3 separate regions of the Homo sapiens genome follow, and all the other regions are linked to region 1. Evidence: promoter capture Hi-C in 16 types of primary human blood cells and fetal thymus (Javierre and others, 2016). All regions are on one chromosome and are shown on one strand. Each heading gives the region's core, a stretch centred on a gene start or on the middle of the fragment in contact. The rest is flanking DNA. Distances are from core to core; before and after follow the strand shown. Region 1 holds the start of RHOT1 (ras homolog family member T1). Region 2 overlaps PSMD11 (proteasome 26S subunit, non-ATPase 11). Region 3 overlaps UTP6 (UTP6 small subunit processome component).

The links. Contacts are between HindIII fragments. The CHiCAGO score rates a contact against its expected background, and 5 or more counts as called.
Region 2: a contact is called between a fragment that was not itself captured here and the fragment with the promoter of RHOT1 in region 1, in 1 of 17 cell types (erythroblasts). The highest score is 6.2, in erythroblasts.
Region 3: a fragment that was not itself captured here is called in contact with the fragment with the promoter of RHOT1 in region 1 in 1 of 17 cell types (fetal thymus); the score reaches 5.0 in fetal thymus.

The regions. Positions count from the first base shown.
Region 1 is chr17:32,141,043-32,145,051 of GRCh38, forward strand. It overlaps RHOT1 (ras homolog family member T1), which reads left to right and starts at 1,460. Exons shown (of 20, transcript NM_001033566.3): 1 at 1,460-1,687. The coding sequence starts at 1,651. LOC105371730 (a long non-coding RNA gene) reads right to left here and starts at 2,093. Exons shown (of 2, transcript NR_136413.1): 1 at 1,983-2,093; 2 at 184-1,671. RefSeq lists an enhancer at 791-960 and silencers at 1,421-1,650, 1,681-1,740. The HindIII fragment of the contact is 3,152 bases long and covers 1-1,995 here.
Region 2 is chr17:32,447,674-32,451,682 of GRCh38, forward strand. All of the region lies in intron 2 of PSMD11 (proteasome 26S subunit, non-ATPase 11), which reads left to right. Among named protein-coding and RNA genes, the nearest start is that of PSMD11, 5.2 kb to the left of the region's middle. The HindIII fragment of the contact is 6,802 bases long and covers 1-4,009 here.
Region 3 is chr17:31,859,305-31,863,313 of GRCh38, forward strand. It overlaps UTP6 (UTP6 small subunit processome component), which reads right to left. Exons shown (of 19, transcript NM_018428.3): 19 at 1,600-4,009. Among named protein-coding and RNA genes, the nearest start is that of COPRS, 2.1 kb to the left of the region's middle. RefSeq lists a silencer at 1-90. The HindIII fragment of the contact is 1,579 bases long and covers 1,565-3,143 here.

The sequences.
Region 1 (4,009 bases), core at 210-2,709:
TAGCCGGGCGTGGTGGCGGACGCCTGTAGTCCCAGCTACTCGGGAGGCTGAGGCAGGAGAATGGCGTGAACCCAGGAGGCGGAGCTTGCAGTGAGCCGAGATTGCGCCACTGCACTCCAGCCTGGGCGACAGAGCGAGACTCCGTCTCAAAACAAAACCAAAACAAAACAAAAAATCTGTGGATTACAACTTTTTAGTGACTTTTTAATATAATAATGATAGCTGAGATCAGTAGAGCACACGCTCTGAGTCTGGCACTGTACCAAATGCTTGACAAGTATTATAGTATTTATTACTCACAACCATCTCAAGAGGAAGGTATTATCATCATTATTTCCATGCTACAGAAGAAGGAACAGTGGCTGAGGGAAGTAAAAATAAAAGCACTTAGTCGAGATCACAGAGCTATTATGTGGAGCCTAGATTCAAACCCAGGAAATTTGCCAGCAACTCTTAACTGCTGCAAGAGACCACATGACTTCTCCTAGGAGAAAGGGAAGTTGGTATTACGCACATTTCATTCCCTTTAAGTGTTTATTGTGTAATATTTAAGATAGAAAAAATGTACATTATGCACAGATAGTGCTTCCTCATTAATTTATGTATTTTATATTTCCCACTGTGTGCCAAGTATTAGGGATGTGATATATATTCGCACGCGTATGTATATATATATATTTGCCATTGTGTACCAAACATTAAGCATGTAACAACAAATTCCTCCAGATGGAGAGGGTCACGAGAAAATTAAGGCAATGTTAGAAAAATCATCTAGAGTTTATTATCGAGTGCCACCTCCGTGTCTAGCATTACGCTGGGTAAGCCTGAGTAAAGAAGAGTGTCCGAAAACCCTGCCATAAAATAAACTACATAGACAGAAAAAAAGTCACTTAGTTTGGTTATAAAGAAAGGAGTCTTGTTCACACAGCGTAAAAACGAATCTTATAATCGTATTTTATAAGCATCAGAGGCAAAAGCAACTAGGGTGACGGGCTTTGGGGAGTGGAAAGCGCCGGATCCTGGGAGCCAGTCGCCCTACTCGATCAAGCATTTTCTGACGGCCCTATCCAATAACGTGGGGACGCAGCTGAAAACCATGCAAGCTGATCGCTGCCCTCCCGGAGTTTATGGTCTGGTGAGAAGATCCCTGCTCTGAGTCACTGCCAAGCTCTAGCTATGTGACTTTGAACAGGGAATTTCTGTCCCTATCTATAAAATAAACGGGGTTAAACCAGGGAATCCGCCATTCAAATTCCTGGCCCAAGTGTCTCCGGGGTCGCGGTGCCCAAAGGAGGGTGGGCGAGGCTCCCTGGGCCTGCGCTGCGGCGGCCTGACAGCGGGAGCGCTGTTCCGGCGCAGAGCGCGTTCGCGTTCCGAAAGCGCGTGTCCCTCGCCGCGTGCCGTCGTCCCCGCCGCCGCCGCCGCCGCCGCCGCCGCCGCCGCCGCCGCCGCCGCCGCCACAGCCCGCTGGGCCGGAGGAGGCGGAGCTGGCGCTGTCCCGGCTCTCTTGCGGGGAAGCAACTGAGGGGGCGGCGCGGCGGGCCCCGGCGGCCGAAGAGGCTGGCAGGTGGCGCCGTGGGGTGGGTGCTCCTGGTGAGAGGAGTCCACTCCGTGCGTGCGGGCGGAGGCCGGCCCCCGAGAGCCGCCGACATGAAGAAAGACGTGCGGATCCTGCTGGTGGGAGAACGTGAGTCCGCACCCTCTGGCCGGCCCCTGAGTCCCTGCCCTCCCTGCCCCTGCAGCCCCTGTCGCCCCTGTCGCCCCTGCAGCCCCAACCTTTGCAGCCCCGGCCCTTCTCGCGCCTCACAGCTCCGCTCGCCTTTCTCCGCGTTCCTAGGCCTTCCAGCCCCTTCACTCTTCTCTTTTGGCTGGCCGCCGGCGGCCCTCACCCTGTCACCTCACCTGGGCCCTCCAGAGATCTCCTTTCCCTGTTCCCCAGCCGTCCTCCCAAGCCATGTCCCTATTAGCCCTAACCGCCCGACCTCATCCCTCCGAAGCTTCTCTCCTCCTTTTCCTCTTCGAACCCTGTCCTTCTGGGCCTCACAGTTTCCCAGGCCGCCTCCTTTCAGACCTTCTTGTCTTCTGGAGATTCCCTTATCACTGCCAGGCAGGTGCTGGAATAAGCAGACTGACCAATAGGGATTGCGTGAACCGGCTCCCGGGGAAGCTGGGGGAGGGGTGCAGAACTATTCGACTTGTGGGCAAGGTCAGGTTTCTGCATTTTTTTGGCACTCGCAGTCTTCACTCTCTCTATGTATTGACATTAAGATATGAGTAGTGGAAAGGGCCGGATCCTTTTTAGCAGTACTTGTACTTTGCATTGGACTAACTCCTCGTACTCGAGATATTTCATCAAAAATTTTTACTCAACTTCGAGTTATGCAAGCGCTCAATGAATTAGAATTATCTGGGGAGGGTCCAATTGTTGTTACCCTAAAGCGTAATCTTTGCCCTCTTTTTAAGCATTATTTATTCCATAGTTACTTCGTAGTTAACTTATTAATAACCACAGGCACACAGACATTTGATATCTCCCCCCACCCAGAAATTTCATACATTTCACCTTTTGAAAATATAATAAAGGAGAGTTCCCTCTGTTCACTGACATGAGGACGCAACAGCGGGGACTTCTTGATTTCACTCTGCAAGTTATGTAACTCAGTTGCTAGGACTAAAATAAGAAAGTGGGCCAGGGATAACTGGATTGTTTGTTTTAAAGAGTTAATACATTCGTTAATAGTCTGCCATTGCTGTTTCGAAGCATTCTGTTTTAAACCATTATTTCATTCTTGGTAACCCCTCAGGGTCACCGTGATGGAATCCCAAGGAAGAAAGTTAACACGTTTTTACCCTCTTCTGTAGTGTTCTTTGAGTTCATTGAAATTTCATCCACCTGCTGTTTGGAGAAATCTTCCTTTAGAATTAGAATTTAGGAGTAAGCTTAGCCAGCCATAGTTTACTTTTTGATTTGCAGTTGTAAATTTTTATTTTTATTTATAACTATATCTTAATCTGTATTTTTCATGGACTTCCTTGACAAGGTTCAGGAAGGTGTTATTTAACATATAATTCATGCTTATGCTTTTGGAGCAAGGTAGGGAAAGTGAGTAGACGACTTGCTTAAAAAACTGATCCTTAAATATATGATGAAATAGTTTGTTGTTGTTGTTGTTTTGAGACAGAGTCTCGCTCTGTCACCGAGGCTGGAGTGCAGTGCCTGGGATTACAGGCACTGTGGCTCATGCCTGTAATCCCAGCACTTTGGGAGGCCAAGGCAGGCAGATCACTTGAGGTCAGGAGTTCGAGACGAGCCTGGCCAACATGGTGAAACCCCGTCTCTACTAAAAATACGAAAATTAGCCGGGTGTGGTGGCACACACCTGTAGTCCCAGCTACTCTGGAGGCTGAAGCAGGAGAATCACTTGAACCCTGGAGGAGGAGGTTGCAGTGAGCTGAGACATGCCAGCCTGGGCAGCAGAGCAAGACTCTGTCTGAAAAAAAACCTTTAATAATGCTCCCACACAGCTGGGTGAGGTGGCTTATACCTGTATTCCAAGCACTCTGGGAGGCTGAGGCAGGAGGATCACTTGAGGCCAAGGAGTTTGAGACCAACCTGGGCAATGTAGTGAGATCCTGTCTCTACAAAAAATTTAAATATTAATGGCTGGGCACAGTGGCTCACTCCTGTAATCCCAGCACTTTGGGAGGCTGAGGCAGGAGGATTGCTTGAACGCAGGAGTTTGAGACCAGCCTGGGCAACATAGTGAGACCCCGCCTCAAAAAAAAAAAACCACAACACTATTAGCTAGGCATGGTGGTGTGCACCTGTAGTCCTAGCTACTGGGGAGGCTGAGATGAGAGAATTGCTTGAACCCAGAAAATCGAGGTTGCAGTGAGCCATGATCACACCACTGCACTTCAGCCCAGGTGACAGAGCAAGACTGTCTCTTAAAGAAAAAATTAATTTTTAATGGCTGGGCACAGTAGCTCATGCCTGTAACCCCAACAC
Region 2 (4,009 bases), core at 616-3,115, 310 kb after region 1:
ATAGTATTTAGAGAGAAGTCTGTTTAAACTTAAATGGGTGATTTTTGTCAAGTTTAAAGTGAATTTAGAGCTTATTTGATTAGATTGGATTAAGATCTGGTAAGTGACCTCATGAATTATTTTCCCTAAAATTATGTTGTTCAAGAGAATGATGGGGGTTAGTTAGCACAACTTCTTCAACTTGAGAACTAAAGATTTTTTTTTTCTTTTTCTTTTTTTTTTTTTGAGACGGGGTCTTGCTGTGTCACCCGGGTTGGAGTGCAGTGGTGCGATCTTGGCTCACTGCAACCTCCGCCTCCTGGGTTCAAGCGATTCTCCTTCCTCAGCCTCCGGAATAGCTGGAATTACAGGCACGCGCCACCAAGCCTGGCTAATTTTTGTATTTTTAATAGAGACGAGGTTTCACTGTGTTGATCAGGCTGGTCTTGAACTCCTGACCTCATGGTCCACCCACCTCGGCCTCCGAAAGTGCTGGGATTCCAGGTGTGAGCCATTGTGCCCGGCCAGTGATTTTTTTCAATTAAAGATAACTAACTTATTAATTATTAGGCTCAGTCTATAGAGCTGAATAAAGATGTATGAAATTGTGAGGATGTGTTTACATGGGCCTTATATCTTACTTAAAACATCATTAAGTAGCTATAAAAAGAACCATCCATAATGGTTTTTGAGTGCTATGAACTTTTTTTTTTTTAATTATTATTATTTTTGAGACAGAGTTTTGCTCTTGTTGCCCAGGCTGGAGTGCAAATGGTGCGATCTCGGCTCACTGCAACCTCTGCCTCCCAGGTTCAAGCGATTCTACTATCTCAGCCTCCCGAGTAGCTGGGATTGCCAGCATGCGCCACTATGCCCGGCTAATTTTGTATTTTTTTTTTTAGTAGAGGCGAGGTTTCACCATGTTGGTCAGGCTGGTCTTGAACTCCTGACCTCAGGTGATCTACCTGCCTTGGCCTCCCAAAATGATGGGATTACAGGTGTGAGCCACTGCACCTGGCCAAGTGGTTACTCTTCTAAACACATACATGGTTTAACTTAATTGAATCCTCGAAACAACTTGAAGTAGGTTTTGTTACCATTTTACACATGAGGATACTGAGCACAGAAAAGTTAAATAACTTAACAAAGCTCATTCAACTAATAACTGGTAGACCTAGGATTTGAGCTCATGTAGTCTTACTTCAGAGCCCATATAGCCACATGACATCATGGTTATTGCTTTCCTATAACTGTCTACTTAAATGAATTATCATTGGTGGGTGGTGTCTTTTCATCTTAGGCTGACTTCCTTCCTATTTAACATACATAAGGATTCCACTTGTCTGTCAGTTAATTTGAGCTTGGGGGGTTCCAAAACAGTTTTGATAATTACTCCATGCAAAATATAATAAGGTAATTTTTCTGAATTATAAAGCCAACTGAAGTGATGTGAAAATTTTTTTTGTTGTTAGCCAGGCGTGATGGCTCATGCCTGTAATCCCAGCACTTTGGTAGGCTGAGGTAGGAGGATCCCTTGAGCCCAGGAATTTGAGACCAGCTCTGGCAACATAATGAGACCCTGTCTCTACAAAAAATAGAAAAATTAGCTGGGTGTGGTGTTATGTGCCTGTAGTCCCAGCTACTCTGGAGGCTGAGGTGGGAGGATTGCTTGAGCCGAGGAGGTTGAGGCTGTAGTGAGCTATGGTCACACTGCCGTGCTCTAGCCTGGGTGACAGAGCAAGACCCTGTCTCAAAAAAAGATTTTTTTGTTGTTGAAATATCCAAATTTCTACTTTCCTCCAGTGGCATGAATTAAGAACAGTGTGTGGTATATAGTCAATACTTAAGTAATTTTCATCCAAAAATGTTACTGTTTTGCTTGAAATTCCTATTTTATATGTATTCTCCCCTTATTTCTTGCCCTTCCTGCCTTGTGACCTGAGAAGTTTAGAAGTGTACTGCTAAAGCTATTGGAATTTAATAGATGAATTATAAGAACTTTCAAAAACATTTCCATGTTACTTATTGTTTTCTAAGAAAGTTTGATGAGTATAGGTATACACAATGGGAACTCTAAGGAAGTGTTGAGGCCTACATATATTTAGCTGTCTTTGCTATTAATGATATGTTTGTATTGTTTGCTCCTGAGAACAGAAAATATGTCTGTTCCATTAATGTTCAGTTTTTTTATGCATTTAATAAATGCATAGCATTGTGCTAAGTATTCTACTCAAAAATTTAAGATAGGATCCCTGGCCAACAAAAATCACTTGGGGATTACCAAATAAAACAATGTCTGATGTGTAATTGTGATTGCAAGTAGTGTTAGTAGTGTTGAGCATCATCAGACATGATGCCTTGGCTCAGGATTTCATAGCCTAAAACTTCTAAAAGGAATCTGTTGAGTTCTGTGAGGTCCTGCCTCAGGCTCCCAAGTGGCTGGAACTACAGGCGCCCACCACCACCCCCGGTTAATTTCTGTATTTTTAGTAGAGGCGGAGTTTCATCATGTTGTCCAGGCTGATCTTGGGCTCCTGACCTCAAATGATCCACCCACCTCAGCCTTTCAAAGTGTTGTGATTATAGGCATGAGCCACTGTGCCTGGCCTTTTTTTTTTTTGAGACCGAGTTTCATTCTGTTGCCCAGGCTGGAGTGCAGTGGTGTGATCTCGGCTCACTGCAACTTCTGCCTCCTGGGTTCAAGCAATTCTCGGGCCTCAGCCTCCCCAAGTAGCTGGGACTACAGGCGTGAGCCACCATGCTCGGCTAATTTTTTTTTTTTTTTTTTTCTTTTAGTAGAGACGAGGTTTCACCATGTTGGCCAGGCTGGTCTTGGACTCCTGACCTCAGGTGATCCACCCGCCTTGGCCTCCCAAAGTGCTGGGATTCCAGGTGTGAGCCACCGCGCCCAGCCAAGTTCTGTGAGGTTCTGACAAGGAAAATCTGGTCATATAATTACAGATAATCCCAGTAAGAATAGGAGGAAGTCAGTATGATTTTATGGGACTTAAAAAAAAATTAACTCAGTATGTATGAAAGTGGAAGGAAACAGGAAATACAAACAAGAATGAATATAAAACAGTAGTAGACTAAAACAGATGATGAACTGAGTCTGAAAAATGCAGGTGGGCACAGTGGCTCACACCTGTAATCCCAGGACTTTGGGAAGCTGAGGTGGGAGGATTGCTTGAAGCCAGGAGTTATGTGGACCAGTTTGGACCACACAGCAAAGACCCTATCTCTGTTAAAAAAAATTTTTTTTTTTTAAAGCAGCATGGGTAACATAAGGAGACCACATATCTACAAAAAAGATAAAAAAATTGACTGGGTGTGGTGGTGCGTGCCTGTGTCCCAGGTACTTGGGAAACAGAGGCAGGAGGATCACTTGAGCCTGGGAAGTCAAGGCTGCAGTGAGCCACAATTGTGCCATTGTACTACAGCCTGGGTGACTGAGTGAGGCTCTTTCTCAAAAAAAAAAAAAAAGAAAAAAGAAAAAGACATGTAGGGGGACAACTAAGAGATCATTTGCTTCTTTCGGCGTAAGAAGGATAACACTCAGTGCTTAGAGAAAATATTGTAAGGCTAGCAGGTGTTAGAAAGGCACACTGCTTAGCTCATATTTCACTTCTGCCTTTTCTAGGAAGGAAAATGATTTTCAAACTGCAAAAGATAGAAATAACAGCAGAAAGAGATAATTAATGGTAGGTGAGAGAAGACAGAGCAGATAGTCTCTGTAAATAAGTTCAGGTCTCTAGGCTCTAACAGTTTCTTTTATTATCAAAAAAATAGTTTTAGCAGATATAACTATAGAGCCATATATTATTCTGAGAAAAATCATGGAGAGGTATAAGGAAGATGAGGCAAATGTTATCCTGCCTTTCAAGAGGGTAATGCAAAGAATAGATGTATTCACTGTGTGCTGCACATTGAAATAAAGAAATTAAAAATAAAGAGTAGACACTATACATGGTCATCAGTGGTAGAGTTCTGGGACAGATTATTTGATAAGGAGATAGTAATCTCTTAAAAA
Region 3 (4,009 bases), core at 1,104-3,603, 280 kb before region 1:
AGGGGGTGGGTACCGGCCAAGAGGGCGGGGCGCGGGGGTGTCACGAGCAAGCGGGGGCGGGGCGGCGCAGGGGGCGGGGCGCGCGGCCTCGCGGAGCCCGCCCCTCCCTCCCAGCGCGAAATCTGAAACAATCTCGGAGACGGATTTTGGAAACTCCTCTCGGTGCATATCCTAAGGCTGCACGACTAGCTGCGTGTGAAACGCCAAGCGTACCCTACTCGGCCACTCGGGGTGTGCTCCAGCTTCAAAACCCCGCGTGGGTAAGACACATGAGCAACCCAGTGACCTCCACCTTGAGCTAATGATCGTCTTTGAAGTTAATCCATTAGAAACCAAGATAGATGATTAAGACACAAACTGCAATATGCAGTGGACACAGAATACAGGCCACGACGCTTACTCATAATAATCCTGAACATTCGGGATTCCTGTATTTCCATGCTCAACGCCTGATACCGACAACCTAATTATTTCCCATTTTGCCTCGAAAGGTGGCTTCTGGGGATAGGCAGGGCCTGAGCTGGGAACAGCCCAACTGGAAAGACAGCCTTCCCTGCCTTCCCCACAGTGCCTAACCTCTAATAACAAACCAGCTCAAGGTGTGCTAATCACGTCAACATCAGGACATGAGACCCTCTTCCTTCATCCCCCTCAAAGACTGTGTTGTTTGTACAACACAAAAGGCATTTGAAAAAATTTAGCATAAAACTGACACACAATATTCGATATTATTTTTGTTCTATATGTAGATGTTCCTACACAGGAGTCAGTATCCCCAAGGCTAACTGCCTCTAGGTCAGCAATGTCCAATAGAACGTTCTTTAATGGTGGAAGTGGAAATGAAAGTTCTACTATCTGTACTGTCCAATATAGTAACCATATACCTACTGAGCACTTGAAATGTGGCCAATGTGAATAAATTGAATAATTCTAATAAATTTAAATTGCTACATGTGCCTTGGAGCTACTGTTTCTAACAGTGCAACTCTAGGTGTACTAGCTAGATGTGTTTTCATAACCTGCAATATTGAGAATCAGATACAGGGATGTGATGACCCCAGGTGACCACCCTTATAGCCTTGTGTTAAGGAGACTACCACTATCCTCTTTGCTCCCTAATCTACATATCTCTTTCGTAAAATTAAAGTGCCAAATAAGATTAAGAATGTTAAACATCCCAGGACTTAAGGGACAGGAAAAAGAGGAATTTTTTTCTTATTTTAAAACAAATGACAAGAAAACAGGGGCTGGCCGCGGTGGCTCACTCCTGTAATTCCAGCACTTTGGGAGGCCGAGGCAGGCAGATCACTTGAGGTCAGTTCAAGGCTATCCTGGCCAACATGGTGAAACCCCATCTCTACTAAAAATACAAAAATTAGCCAGGCGTGGTGGCACACACCCATAATCCCAGCTACTCGGGAGGCTGAGGCAGGAGAATCACTTGAGCCCGGGAGGTGGAGGGTGCAGTGAGCAGAGATTGCCCCACAGCACTCCAGCCTGGGCGACAGAGTGAGACTTGGTCTAAAAAAAAAAAAAACCAGAAAGAAAAAGAAAACAGTACAAAAGCTTAAAATAAAAATGTTCTAAAGTAGACTCTAATACTCATAGAAATTTAATATATAATAAAGGTAACATCACAAATCAGCAGAGAGAAACATAACTGCCCAAATAGTGTTGGCAAAATTAACTGCTTGGGGAAAAAGAGTTGTTCTCAGCACCAGGAAGAGCTTCCAAAGCATTTTAAAAACAGACATCACACATACACACACAAAATACCTCTGGGCATCAAAAATCGCCACAAAAGGTGCCTATAATCCCAGCTACTTGGGAGGCTTTGGCAGGGAGAACTGTTTGAACCTAGGAGGCAGAGGTTGCAGTAAGACCACACCACTGCACTCCAGCCTGGACCACAGAGCAAGACTCTGTCTCAAAAAAAAAAAATCACCACAAACAAGGCTGGGGGTAAAATTATTTGCAACAAATGAGAAACAAGATATTAATATTCTGAATATGTTTTTAAAAACTCTGGCCAGGCACAATGGCTCATGCCTATAATACCAGCACTTTGGGAGGTTGAGGTAGGAGGATTGTTTGAGCCCAACTGTTTAAGAGACCAGCCCTGGCAACATAGCAAGACCAGTCTCTACAAAAAAAAATTTAAATTAACCAGGCATGGTGGTGTGCACCTGCAGTCCCAGCTACTCAAGAGGCTGAGGTGGGAGGATCTCTTGAGCCCAGAAGTTAAGGCTGTAGTGAGCCATGATCACACCACTGCACTCTAGCCTAGGTGACAAAGCAAGAACTTGTCCAATTTAAAAAAAAAAATTAACTCATAAATTAGTAAGAAAAAAAATTTTTAAATAGTCTAAGGATGTAAAAAGATGAGAAACATAAAATACACTAACTTCACTAATATCAAAGTATGGTAAAACAATGACATATCACATTTCACCTATAAAATGGTAAAAATAAAAGATATAATTACACCAGTACAGGTAAGGGTACTGACACTTTCATGTATTGCTTGAAAGAAGGAGCAAACCAGCAATACATATCAGTATTCTCTAAAAGCAGTATCCTTTGATCCAGTAATTCCACTGTCGGATGTCAATCTCCTAAGGAAATGGCCAGGGATGTGAACAAAGATTGACAAGAATCTTCATCAACAGCATTTATCTAATTTTTAAAAAAATTAGAAATGACAGTCCAGGCCAGGCTTAGTGGTTCACGCCTGTAATCCCAACACTTTGGGAGGCCAAGGCGGGTGGATCATGAGGTCAGGAGTTCGCAACCAGCCTGGCCAATATGATGAAACCCCCGCACTACTAAAAATACAAAAATTGGCTGGGCGCGGTGGCGGGTGCCTGTAATCCCACCCAGCTGCTCGGGAGGCTGAGCCAGAACCACTTGAACCCGGGAGGTGGAGGTTGCAGTGAGCCGAGATGGAGCCACTGCACTCCAGCCTGGATGACAGAGCAAGGCTCCATCTCAAAAAAAAAAAGACAGTCTAACCAGAGGATTAGTAAAATATATTATGGCTCATTTTTACAATGTAATGTTACGAATTCATTAAATGTTTTTAAGGCTATTTAATGACACAGAAAAACAATACTAAGTGAAACGTAACAATAAGCTACACTGAAAGCTTCTCCCAGTGACAGGATGCTTTTTTTTACCACACTATTCTATTTCCTCCATATTTTCCAGAACAAATGCATACCACGTATCTTTTATAATGAGAATAAACCAACAAAACTGTACTTTCTCCTTTTTTTTTTTCCTTGAGAAGGAGTTTCGCTCTTCTTACCCAGGATGGAGTAGCAATGGCATGATCTCGGCTCACTGCAACCTCCGTCTCCCAGGTTCAAGCAATTCTCCTGCCTCAGCCTCCCAAGCAGCTGGGATTACAGGCACCCACCACCACACCTGGCTAATTTTTGTATTTTTAGTAGAGACGGGGTTTCACCATGTTGGCCAGGCTAGTCTCAAACTCCTGACCTCAGGTGATCCGCCTGCCTCAGCCTTCCCAAAGTGCTGGGATTACAGGCGTTGAGTCACCATGCCTGGCCACTTTCTCCTTCATTTTAACTGGCTCTTAGGTCGAGATTAGAGATACTCATGCTTGACCTGGGATAATTTTAAAAAAACCCAGTCGTATGCTATCCATGTATTTTGGGAAACATTTAGGACCTGTGGAAGATCGGGCCTCAACATTAAATCAGCAATTCTCTTTACTGGAATCAGATTAGCACATCAAACTGAGCAGTGTCATGCACCTATAATCCCAGCTACTCAGGAGTCTGAGGTGAGAAGGTCACTTGAGTCCAGGAGTTCAAGACCAGCCAGGGCAACAGAGCAAGACCCAGTCTCAATCATAAAAATTTTTTAATTTTTAAAAAGATTTAACAAGTTAACATAAAATTAAAGTGTGTCTCAAAACCAGACAGCCATCTTGTCTGCCATCACTGAGCAAATTACAGATGGACTCAATACAAATTTGCCCACGGGG